Regions from separate parts of the Homo sapiens genome. Here regions 2 and 3 are each linked to region 1. The links are contacts of gene promoters, found by promoter capture Hi-C in human tissues and cell types (Jung and others, 2019). All regions are on one chromosome and are shown on one strand. The core of a region is centred on a gene start or on the middle of the fragment in contact, and the rest is flanking DNA. Distances in the headings are between cores, read along the strand shown.

Evidence for each region. Contacts are between HindIII fragments. The study calls those that stand out against the background at their distance.
Region 2: a contact is called between a fragment that was not itself captured here and the fragment with the promoter of PAX6 in region 1, in 3 of the 25 tissues and cell types used here (H1 embryonic stem cells, liver and lymphoblastoid cells).
Region 3: a fragment that was not itself captured here is called in contact with the fragment with the promoter of PAX6 in region 1 in 1 of the 25 tissues and cell types used here (H1 embryonic stem cells).

Annotation. Positions count from the first base shown.
Region 1 is chr11:31,810,072-31,814,281 of GRCh38, forward strand. It overlaps PAX6 (paired box 6), which reads right to left and starts at 1,251. Exons shown (of 14, transcript NM_001368894.2): 1 at 1,044-1,251; 2 at 757-944. RefSeq lists enhancers at 817-1,386, 1,089-1,146, 2,494-3,462 and a promoter at 1,034-1,443. The HindIII fragment of the contact is 12,830 bases long and covers 1-4,210 here.
Region 2 is chr11:31,958,097-31,961,890 of GRCh38, forward strand. No RefSeq gene overlaps it. Among named protein-coding and RNA genes, the nearest start is that of LINC03031, 81 kb to the right of the region's middle. The HindIII fragment of the contact is 7,890 bases long and covers 1-3,794 here.
Region 3 is chr11:32,005,883-32,009,784 of GRCh38, forward strand. It overlaps LOC124902658 (a long non-coding RNA gene), which reads left to right. Exons shown (of 2, transcript XR_007062645.1): 1 at 1-94; 2 at 673-2,317. Among named protein-coding and RNA genes, the nearest start is that of LINC03031, 33 kb to the right of the region's middle. The HindIII fragment of the contact is 3,311 bases long and covers 271-3,581 here.

The DNA.
Region 1 (4,210 bases), core at 1-2,500:
CCGCTCGGCTCTGAGCTCCCTCGGAGCGCGCGTTCCACCGCCTTGGCCTGGTGGCTTCCTTCCCGGCTCGCGCTAGCTCGCTCTTCCCTCTACCTCCAGCGTGCGGCTGCCTTGCCGACTGACTCCACTCGGGCTGGTGGCGGGCGCGGTGCCCCCCTCGGCGCTCGAGTGCCGGCTGACTCTTCTGCGCCGGAGCCCAGTGCGGCACAAAGCCCGAGGGCCGGCGGGCGGGCGGAGACGCGGCGAGCAGGTTCCCTCGGCGCTCCCTCGGCGAGTCCTCGGAGCGCCCGCTCTCTGCGCGTTCGCTGGGCCTCGGGCTGGACAAAGCAGCCGGCAGCGGTTGCTCTCTGCGGCCGTTCCAGGGCCTTGGGCACCACAGAGCCTCTTCGTCTTTTCCCGCGGGTCGGGAGCATTGGGCGACGCTGGGGCTAGGAGCCGCGGCTGCTGTCGCGCCTGGAGTCTCCCTTCTTCCCGCGAGCTCAGCCCGCGCTGGCGCTGGCGCTGGCGCTGGGGCTGAGCTGGCCGCCCGCCCCGAGCCCTGCGCCGCTCCCGCTCGCCGGCAGTCGCCCTCCGACGCGGGCTTTCGCTGGAAGTAGAAAGTTTGGGCTCCTGCGTGGAAACTTCTCCGGCCCAACTCTCCCGGCGTAGCAGTGGGGGAGGGGACCGGCGAGAGGGGAGGAAGGAAGGGGGGAGGAAGGGGGAGACCTGTCTGAATATTGCAATAAAAATAAAGCGAGAAGAAAGAAGCGGACTCACCTTTATGAGGCATCCTTTCTGGTTGTCACAGCTTCTGTCAAGAGTTTTGTTTGGTTGGGGTTTTTTGTGCTGCTGTTGTTGCTTGAAGACCACAATGGTTTGAAATGACGGTGTTTTAAAGGAGTTGCTGGTGAGAGTTTTCTCCACGGATGTTGCTGGGTTGGTGTGTGAGAGCAATTCTCAGATTCCTGGGAAGGAGACAGAGATTGACAATAAAATGGGCTGTCAGCGGCTGGAGAGTGAGAGATAAAGAGTGTGGGTGAGGGAAGTGGCTGCAGCCAGCACACCTATGCTGATTGGTGATGGCTCAAGTGTGTTAATGTGTGTGTGCCGGCGCCCGGCCTCGCCTCCACCGCTCCTCACTGGCCCATTAGCGAAGCCTGACCTCTGTCATCATCCTCCAGCAAAACACTTCCTCCTGCGCCTGAACCAGAGCGGGAAATGAGGCCGAGCCACGGTTCCCTTTTCAAACCCACTAATCACTCCGCAACATGCAAATGCACCGCTCGCTCTCACACAAAATATTGCTTTATGCAAAGCAGCGCCGGGGCCTCGCGCCAGCCGATTGGATGCTCCCTCTCCCCGCCTGGTGCAATTGGTCCGTTTGTTTGAATATGAATACACTTGTTTTCGGCTCCGCCGGTGGGTCCCGGCTCCTCTCCCCGGCGCAGGGCCCCCGAGCCCGGGCTCTGGCGCTCGCCTGCATCTCCCCGCTCCGCGCACGCCGAGATTCGGCGCGGCCCGCCCTGCTGCCGCGAACTTGAGCGGTCAAGTGAAGGTTTCTGGGTTGGGGGTCGCGCCCCCACTCCCCCTAAGCTGGACTCGGGACTCCCAGTCCTCGGAGGGTGCAAGTTTCTGTGCTGTCCTTTCTTGCCAACTCCAGGACAGCGTGGCCTGCCGCCCCGCCCCCGCCCGCCCCCACCCCATCCCAGCCGGGGCCCCAAGACACAGAGCACAGCGGCGGCCGCACCCCAGCCCACCTGGCCCCTTGGAAGAAGAGGAAAGGGGCGGGAGCGTCACTGGGTCCTGGCAGCTCCATTCCAGCTGCGGAGGCCGCGGCGAAGCCTAGGCCGAGAGGAGGTTGCCGGGCCGAGAACTAAACGAGGCCAGAGGCCTCCCCAGCCCAAGCCTCCAGGGCCTGTCCAAATCCTCCACCCCGCTCTCCCCGCCCTTTCTTCTCTCCTTTCTCCTTTCGGAAGCCGCGGTGCGCAGCGGAGCAGAGGCACAGCTCTGGCTGGAGAGGCCCGAGTAAACACGCCACTTACTTTGTGTACAGAGGGTTCTTGTGAAAAGCCCTGAAGAGTCCTCACCAAACACTCACCAACTTCTCCCACGTGCCATTTGTTGACTAAGTGCGGCTGCTTTTCGCAGCGCCCGAGAGGAGGGGAAGCCAGGGGAGATAAGAGGGGAGGGGGAGTGGAAGCCTGGGTGGGGGGGCGGATGACCAATGCTGGGAGGGATTCTCTCTCTCTCTCTGTGTGTGTGTGTGTGTGTGTGTGTGTGTGTGTGTGTGTCCCACTGGCGATGTCGGTATGTCAGCGTGTGTCGTGTGTGCCACCGGTCATCTGTGTGTGGTGCGTGTGTCTCCGCACCACGACTCCCTCTCCTGGGTCTGCTCAGTCCACGGAGGCAGCTCCCCTTCAGCTGTTGCCAGAAAACCGGGGAGGAAAGTAAGTAAATGGCTTTTCTCTTCTGACCACACACCAGAAGTCCATTTGTTGAATGCCGCACGATTAGGACACACCTCAGTACACTCCAAAGGCGCCCCTCGGAGCCTGCAGTTAAGGTGACAGGAGAGCGAGCGGCTGCCTGGTCCTGCGCTGTCCCGAGCTCTCTCGGCGGCTTCGGGCCACGGAGCCGGGAAGGAGAAGGAAGGCCTGGGCTGCTGTACACACCCCAGGACAGGGCGAGGGGGAATAGGGCTGAAGAGCTGAGGCAGGGAGGCTGAAATGAAGCAGCCGAAGGGTACGCTAGACTCTTCTTGACTTAGGGAAAGTGCTGAAAGTCAGAGCTCATCAATAAAATCTGCGCGACCTGAACTCGCTGCTGACTGGCCGCGTCGCCGCAGCCCCTGGCAGCCGGGACAGTGAGGACGCTGCAAGCCGCCCTGGGCCGCCGGGCCACATGTGGGCCTCACCCTCTCGTTCCTGCCTGGGACCCAGCAGCCCTGCGACCAAGGAGCCCGGGCAGGGCTCCCGGGAAGCAAAGGCCTCCCCGGCCCTAGCCAGAGGTGGGGTCGCATAACCCTCTCCCCTCCCCGGGCTGGGGAGGGCTGCCGGCTCTAACCCTTCCCCGGGAGCTCGCAGCGCCGGGAGGAAACCTGGGTCAGAGGTGAAGGAGGTGGCGCCGGGTGTCCAGGTCCGCGGCCTCCTGGGCGAGGTTTCATTTCGCAGGAGCGCGACTTTCGGAGGATGCCGGCAAGTGGGGCCGCGGCCCTGAGTCCCAGACCAGCGAAAGTCGGCTTTCTCTTTCTCTCTCCTTTTACTTTCCAAGCGAGCATTAAAGAAGCTTGGACTCAAGACTCAAGTCCGCTGTGCATGAGCGAGGGACTTGCGGGGGGGCGGGGGGGGGGGAAGTGATTCTGTCCGAACTGGAGGCGAGTATCATTTTTACAACCTCTCAATTAGCGACCGAGTGGATTAGCACCTTCTTAAGCTTTGCCTCGGAAAGAAGCAGCCGTAATCTTGTTGCTATTTCCCCCCAGGGCACTGGCTCTTTGAATCAGCTCCTTCTCCCACCCCTCCAACCCCCATCTCGCTGCGGAGAAAAGTTTTAACAAAAAATCAGAAAAGGCAAGGAGCGAGGAGTGAATGCCACTGACGTCATTGGGTGGGGAAGGGGGCTCCGGGAAAGACTCCTGGAAACTCCTCCGCACAAACAAAAAACAAAAAGGACTTGGCTGCTTCCCATGTGTCAATATTTGGGGAGGGGAGTTCAACCCCAGAATGAGGCCGAGTTTTCAAAGTTTAAGGAGAGAGGGGTGAGAGTGAGATTTCCTCGTTCTCTCTGGACTGGTCTCAAGGAAGGTGGGGGTGCTGTTCTACCTCGTGGGGAGCCTCACTCCCTCTGCCAAGTACCGGCTCTGGGGGCGAAGCGGCCTAGGGGTGTGGGGGCCGAGACTGAGGTGCGGGCGCGGTTGCCAGAGGTGTGTACAAAACCGAGACAACTCGCAGGTCGCCATTTTAATTGCGGCTACCAACACGCCCGAGGCCCACTTGCTGCCCTCCAAGACGCGGGGGGGCGGCGGGGATTGCGCTTTAGGTTCTGTCTCCTTTCCCCGCCTCCCCACAGGCCCCTGTTCCCCCCTACCCTCCGCCCCCTGTGGCCAGAGGGAGGACCTCTCAGGCCGGCGGGTGCGTTCCCGCGGGGGCCGCCGGGGTCGTCCCACCCGGTAGCGGGGCTGTCTGCGTGGAGGGAGTCCCGCTGGGGGACCGTGGCTCGCCAGAGCCTGCCC
Region 2 (3,794 bases), core at 897-3,396, 150 kb after region 1:
CAAATAAATCTTGAGATGGGATTAAGAGAACAGTTTTGGCTCGTTTTCAGGACTGTCATCTGTTGAACATCTCCCAGCTCATTTGAAGGAAGTGACAGAAGAGAGTGAGATTTCAAATCAGGGAAATTGGCGACAGGCTCTGCTCAAATTGGCCTCCCCACCTCCAGCGTGCAGCCCGCAGAAAACAAAAGCTCCGGAGTAGGAAAGTGACACAGCGCCACCTCCCGGTAGCCTGGCCGGCCAAGGCCTCTGGCTTAAGCGGGCCTCTGGCCTGCCAAAATGCCTGGGGAGGGAAGAGCTGTGTCTCTGCACTCATAAGATGGGAACAGGGGGGTTCTGGGAGCTCCAAACGTTTCAGTTCACAGTGTGTGCAGTCGTGTGTCTTGCGCATACACACATGCACATAGACAGCCAATTTGAACACCGAGGATTAACTTGTCTTAAAGGGGCAACTCTCTCGTCCATCTACTTTTAGGCAGATTTTAAAGACGATCATAGTAGTTAGCATATGGACTTTGGAGCCTGGTTGCCTGGGTTCAAATCTCAGCTTGGCACTTAATAGCTGTGCAACCTTGGCCAACTTACTTAACCTCTCTGTGTCTGTTTCATCTCCTACAGAATAAGGATAATAAGAGTATCAACCTCAGAGGATCACTGCAAGAATTGAGTGGGATACATATGACGTGCTTAGCACAGTTTGTGGCCCATGGTAAGTGCTCAGTATGTATTAGCTATTTTTGGTATTCAATTAAATATAGCTCACACATTTTTTTTTTCTTCTTTACACCCACCTGTTCGGCCATTTCTAACTGCCTGTTGGCTTATACATCCTATGCAGATGTTTCTGGTTCAAGGAAGATAATGCTAAATCCACAGTTTTGCTGAAATAATTGACCCTACCCAAACGCACACCCTAAACTGAATGAACTACTTGGCAGATTTTGAGAAAAATCATCCTTGGGTAACTCCCATGTATTTTTTTTGTTTTTGTTTTCGAGCAGCCTGGCTGTGCAGTTGGGGCAGTTGATGCTTCAGAGTAAACCCAGGAAGGCTTCATGGGCCTGTGGATGATACATACAGCACTCTCAAATGTTGAGCTTCAACTCATGAGGCAATATTAGTCCTGGATTTTCCTACATTTGTCTGTAGATTGCTCCAGGGACACTGGCAGATGAGGAAAGGGTTTCATTTCAAGCCTTCCTGCTACATTTGAGCCAGAAGGTCTCTGGGAAGCTCCTTCATGGGGCCAGACTTGGGATGTGCATCCATCTTGATGGAAAGTTCTCCCAACCTAGAGAAAAGATGGTGAGGCAACAGGCTGCCAAGGTCAGAGGCTGGTCTTTCCCAAAGTCAACCGTAAATCAAAGCCTCCAAGGTGACCGACCACGTGTCACAGACACCAGCTCTGCAGTCTCTGAGCGGGTGGCACAGGGCTTGATGACAGGAGGCCACCCCTTCCCCAGCCCATCTGCTGCTAGGGAAGACCAGCGTGTGGGCTGTTCATTGCCACCAAGGAGGTTTTCCTGCTGTTTACTGAGGTTTAACTCTCCTTGTAAAGGAGGGCCTGGCCCAAACATCTGTTTCATCAAAGGGGTTGGAGTCTTGGAGACACAAAAGCTTCTCTCAGTGGCTCCATTCTATGGCCTTTATCGCTCCCAGAGTCGTCCTATTAATATGCTGAAACAGCCATGACTTTGCCACTATGAACGTGTCTAGGGAGCACAGCCAGGTTTCAGGGTGAGGAAGGAGAGAAAGGGAGAGTCCTTTGAATCCCCTCAGACTTTACACTTGGCTTCCTCTTATGGGTAAGACTTAACCATGACTCACCTGTTTTAGAATGTTTTGTTAGCCAATCCCTGATTTGCTTGAAACCTCCAAAGTCTCAAGAAAATAGCCTCAAGGGAACTTGGAGCTAAGTCGCAATGTCTCAGGCCTAATAAATAAACTGCATATGAGGACAGCACATGATCGAAAGAGCAAATGCCAGACCGGGAATCTTCAGGTCCAGCACTTGGAAGTCACTGGGATTTTTGCAGAAAACCATGAAGCATTAACGTTTTAAGTTTAAAGGATTAAATAGATAATTTAGGGCTACATCTGACTGTGGAGCCCTGGAGTCTCCTGCTATTTATTGGCTATTTAACTCTGCAGTAGTTACTTCACGTCTCTGAAACTCCATTTCCTCATCTGTCAAAGGGACGGAAAATACTGGGGTGAGGACTTAATGACAAATAATATGTTTTACTCCCTCTAGTGCTTGGCACGTAGACACTCAAACAATGGTAACCAAGTAACAAAAGTTTAAGAGAAATGTGTCAGAGAAGAAGCTAACTTGAGAAATGCTTTTCCATTGAAATTATTATTATTTAAAAAGTTTTGTTTTTGTAAATTGGGAAAAGAGTGCCACAGCTTGATGATAGTGGAGTGGCAGACGTGTTGTATGGCCCGGCTAGGGCAGGCGGCCCTGATATATGCAGCGGTGTGGCTTCCTGTGCTAGGTTAGGGTTCTCAACCTTCTCTACCTATGACAACACACCTATCCAGTGGCATGAGGTTGCCCAACCCACTCTCCTCATTGATGACAGGTTCGAATCCTAGCTCGATCACTAGCTTTGCATTATCTTGGGCAAGTAAATGAGTGATATGAATAGTACCTACCTTCCAGGTTTTGGGGGGTGGGTGGGTAACTGTGATTATGTAGATAAAGCACTGAGGACAGTCTTGAGCACAAAATAAATGCTCAATCCAAAAGAAAAAAATGCGTTCATGATTTCTGTATGATTTTCAGCCCCAGCTATAACCCCGTCTTTTTCACTCAGGGAAGCAATTTGGAAAATAACACTGTGATAGGGATACTCTTGAATCTGCTCAAAAATTGCTAAAACTCATTCACACATAGATTTAATCATTATCAGTAACAAATTATTTGTGAATGACTTCATAACTGTTGTAGATCACAAGTCCTCAAACGCAAATGGGTGCCATACTTTTCTCCAGGCTGCGTGAAATCTGCATTTGCTTCAGGTGGCTGCTGTAACAAATTACCACCAACTTGTTGGCTTAAGCCAATACGATTGTATTATCTTACAGTTCTGAAGCTCAGAAGTCCTAAATGGATGCCAGTGGGCTAAAATCAAGGTGTCGGCCGGGCTATGCTTTTTCTGCAGGCTCTAGGGGAGAATTGTTTGCTTGCCTTTTCCAGATTTTAAAGGCTACCTCCTTCCTTGGCTTGTGGCCACATTCTGTCTTCAAAGCCAGCAATGGTCAGATGAGTCTTTACTCCTATGCCATCTCTCTGACTCTTCTCCACTTAAGATGCCTTGTGATTACACTGAGTTCACCCCAATAATCCAGGATAATTGCCCTATTTTAAGATCAGGTGATTAGCAACCTTAATTCCATTTGCAGTTTCTACTTGCCATATGATACAACAGATTCATAGGTTGTAGGAATTAGGATTGTGGACATCTTTGGGGTTGGCAGCTGGGGGCGGCAGTGGGTATGGGAGGGGCATATTTTGGCAACCACATGGGATAACTTTGAATCTGCCAAAATTACTTAAAATTCATTCACACATATTGTTGCTTTAATCATCAGTAACAAATACAGTGAATAACTCCACAATCAATATTGATAAGAGGGCCTCAAATACGGTGGGGGCCATACTTTTCTCTAGGCTACATGAAATGTGAAAAGATAAGATAATATGGCAATTTTTAACTGAAAATAAACTTACTCCATTTAAAGGACTATTCTTTTGGTATTAAAATGTTGGCAGCAGATGATAGTTGGCT
Region 3 (3,902 bases), core at 676-3,175, 200 kb after region 1:
ATGGCTTGCGAGAGTGTACAAGTGGAATCTGCTATGCCTTCTTAAAGCCTGGAAGCAGTAGAGTGTGATTTCTGCCACATCCTGTTGGTTATGGGTGAGTCACAGGTACAATCCAGATTGTTTGGAAGGGTGGGAGGGGACTGCACAGGGATTTGAACACCAGGAGTGCTTCATGGGGACTGGCCTGGGGGACAAACTACCACTGGAGTGAAAGCAACGGAAACCCAGCTGGAGTCTCAGTTGTTCCACCAGTAAGCAGGTGGCCTTGGCGAGGCCTGTCGGGATGCCAGTTTCCATCTCTGGACGGTGTCCCAGAGGGGACAAAGCTCCCGCCCTGGCAGTTAGTGCTTCTTCTCCTCCGCCTTTTCCCCTGCTCTCCCCCAAGACTTCTCAGGACAGTTTCTTCCTCAGCACTATTTTCCTTGTGGTGGAGTTGGAAGGATAGAAACTCTAACCAGCAGTCAGAGAGGGATTGGCACTGGACCCGACGTCTCATTATGTTGAACATCATTGTGCCAACCTAAGGGAAACGGTGCGGGTTGTTTGTTATCGATGGCAAATCTTCTTCCAAGAGTGGCGGGCCCTTCCGTCAACAACACAAAGTGTCCTCGCTCCCGGCCCCCTTTCCAGCCCTGTGACTCATCAGGCCTCTAACCTCTTTTTCCCCCACAGTGAGAAATATCCAAGTTGATAACAGCAAAAACTTGATAATGACTAGTGTTGGGAAGAGATTAAACTACTTGTAATTCCAAATTGTTCAAAATCAACTCTCCTGACCTGCCAGGATAGTGAGACTTAGAAAAACAAAAACAAAAACAAAAGCAGAAAACCAAAGCGGCAAAAAGAAACAACTTCAGAACACAAATTTAAGACACGAATTTTGCTCAGTTCCTAGTTTTGACTCTGAGCAATGGAGGTATTTCTAACAAAAGAAAATCTCCACGTCCGTCCTATGTTTGGAATATTCACTGGTGTGTAATTCCTAGAAGTGTGCTGAGAATGATTTCGATAAAGAGAAAGGTGCTTGACTTCTGAGATGCTGAGAATGATCTGTTTTTAAGGAACGTTTTTCAAACGTGAACAGGCCAATGAGAGAAATGGACTGCCCTCTGTTGGACAGAGATAGCAAAATCAGCCAGGGATGGAGGAGGAAGCTCTGTGGCAGTGGCTTCAGCCTTCTTGAGAAGGTCCTCTTGGGATCTTTTAATTGTGATGACACAGACCTCTCATTTAAATGTGGCCCAAGAAACACAGAAGTAAAATTTTAGAGACATCCACATAGATAAGATTTGCATTTCTACAATGTATCCAGCTATGTGTTTTCAGTTTTAACAGAGAAATGTCAAAAAATATACTAGTAAAGTGCAGGGTTTAGGGAGATACATATGTTAATAAGTATTTGAAGTTGAAGAATTGGGACTAGAGCTACTCTATTCCTAAGTTTATCAAACACAGAAATGGCTCATCTGACCTAAGATGCTGTATCCTGCAATGATAATATTACCTCAAAGGAGTTTTAGAGACTCAAACTGTCACTGTCTGTTTGAGGAACACAGTCACTAATTAAGCTTAAATGATGCTTTCCCCCACAAACATCCGTGATTATTATTGTTTTCTGCTGGCCAGGTCACCTACGGAATATAAAGAAAAGCAAATCCAGGCTTTGGCCCTCCCAGGGGAATGATCATGTCAGCAAGAATTCACAAGGACGTTGACTCCAGGGAAGGGAAGAGGCTATTTTTGTTCATTCACCTGCAGCTAGAGCTGCTCAGAGCAAGAAAGATTCAGCTATGTTCTACTTTTGCTTCCTTTCAAAACTAGAGAGCCATTTTCCCAAACACCTGTTACCCTTGCTTTAAAAATATCTTGAGAAGAGTGGAACTAGAGAAAGGAAGGAGTGTGAGGGAAAGGATTACAGAAGACAACATGTCTTCTGTGTGAATGGTCTTGACATTTCATACAACAATTAAGAAATTAGCAAAAAAAAAGGCACTCATCACTTGGACTCATTAACTCCACTTCTAGGAATCTATTCACAGAAATACTGGTAGAAACACCCCAATGTGGCTACAAGAAGGTCCACTGAAGCATTGCTTGTAATAATAGCAAATTAGAAACGACCAAAATATCCTGAATAGAGAACTGCCAGAATAAAGATGTTACACAATGGAACACCATGCAGCCATTTAAAACAAGGAGGTTCTCTGGGGGCTCACACGGACAGTGCACCACAATAGGTTCAGTTATTAAGTGACTAACACATGTTGCATAACAGAAGTGCTGTTTTCCATTTCTGTAAATAAAATTGTATTATTAATTGTAGTTTGTTGCTTAAAACGAAACCTGGAAGAATATACACCAGTCCATTAACAGTGGAAATCTCTAGGAGTTGGGATTATGAAAGGTGGCTACTTCTTAAATGTAATCGGTCCATATTGTTTCACATCTTTACCACTAGCATATATTACTTTTGTTATCAGAAAATACAGTTAACATTTGTTTCATTGGATAGATATGATTTTCTCTCAGCAGAAGTACTATAGGAAGCTACCCATTCATAGGTAGGAAGCACTTCACATTATCACTTTAATGATAGAATTAAATTGCTCAAGCAAATCACAAAAAGAAAAATCAGATGAAATATATAATGTAAATGCCCAGTGCCTGGCATATAACAGGTATTCAATAAATATTTGCTCAATGAGAGAATAAATAAATGAATGAATGAGGAACTGTTTTCCTATGTGCTTTGTTTTATTTGCCACCTGTTTAAAAAATTGTCTGTAAGTAAATACGTTCACTTTGAATAATATCTCCAACAGATTTCCCTGATTACAGAATTCATTTTTTTCTCTCATACATCACCAGAAATCAAAATGCTAGGGTGGGGAGTGTGGGAAGTGGTGAGGGAGACATAAAAATCAAGGCTTTAACATGAGGGAAAAGGGATTTTCACAAACCACCAAAGTGCTACTTCTCTTGGAAGAAGTGCACCCTGGATTTTTTCCAGCTGAATTCTGCAACAAAACCCAGGGAAAATGAACATTAATCTTTTATGAACTAAGCCCCCAAATGAACAGCCTTTGAGCTCAACCCTAATTAGGTTGCATCTCAATACAGAGAATCCTTAACGAATAAGGACACATAACAACACAGGCAAACTCTCTGCTGGGACTGCCTCAGAAATGCAGGGGCCGCCCAGGCCACTCTCAACTGCTCCTGTGCATCAGGGGCTCCAGCTTTACCTGGGAAATACACATTCATCTTGGAGAGAAAGCACATGGAGTTTTCTTTAACTGAAATTCTTGGCCATCTTGCTACCTCCATGGCCATCTGGGGGGTCTGTGGATAAATGAGAAGAGAAAGAGACAAGAAGCAGTGCTCTTAGAGTGAGTTTCAGCAAGTCAAGGTTTCTTCTGCTTTGTGCCCCGTGGAGCAGCCAACACTGGCTGTGCTCGGAAACAAGAAAATCCGCATATGCATTATATGCATGATGTGGGAGGGTGTGTAGTGCTGCGGTGCCTGAGAGACCTGGGTTTGAATGCCAGCTTAGCCACTTTCTACTCATGTGACCTGGGACAAGTTGCCTACCCCTTCTGAGCCACAATTTTCTCATCTATAAAATGCGGATAAAGGTGCGCTTGGTTGGGAGGAGTAAATGAAATGAACTAAGTAGCTCTCAGATTGTTCATTGCTAACCAAGACCTTATTTCTCCAACCACAGCTTCCCCAGCCCCATTCTATCACACAACTTCCACCTCTCTCATTCAATCCCAACAAAACATTGTAAGATAAGTGTGATAACCCCTGTTTTACAACTAAGGAACTCAGAGAGCAGAGGTCATTTGTCCGAGGAGACAGAGCAAGGGAGCAGCAAAGCTGGGATTTCACCTCGAAACCGT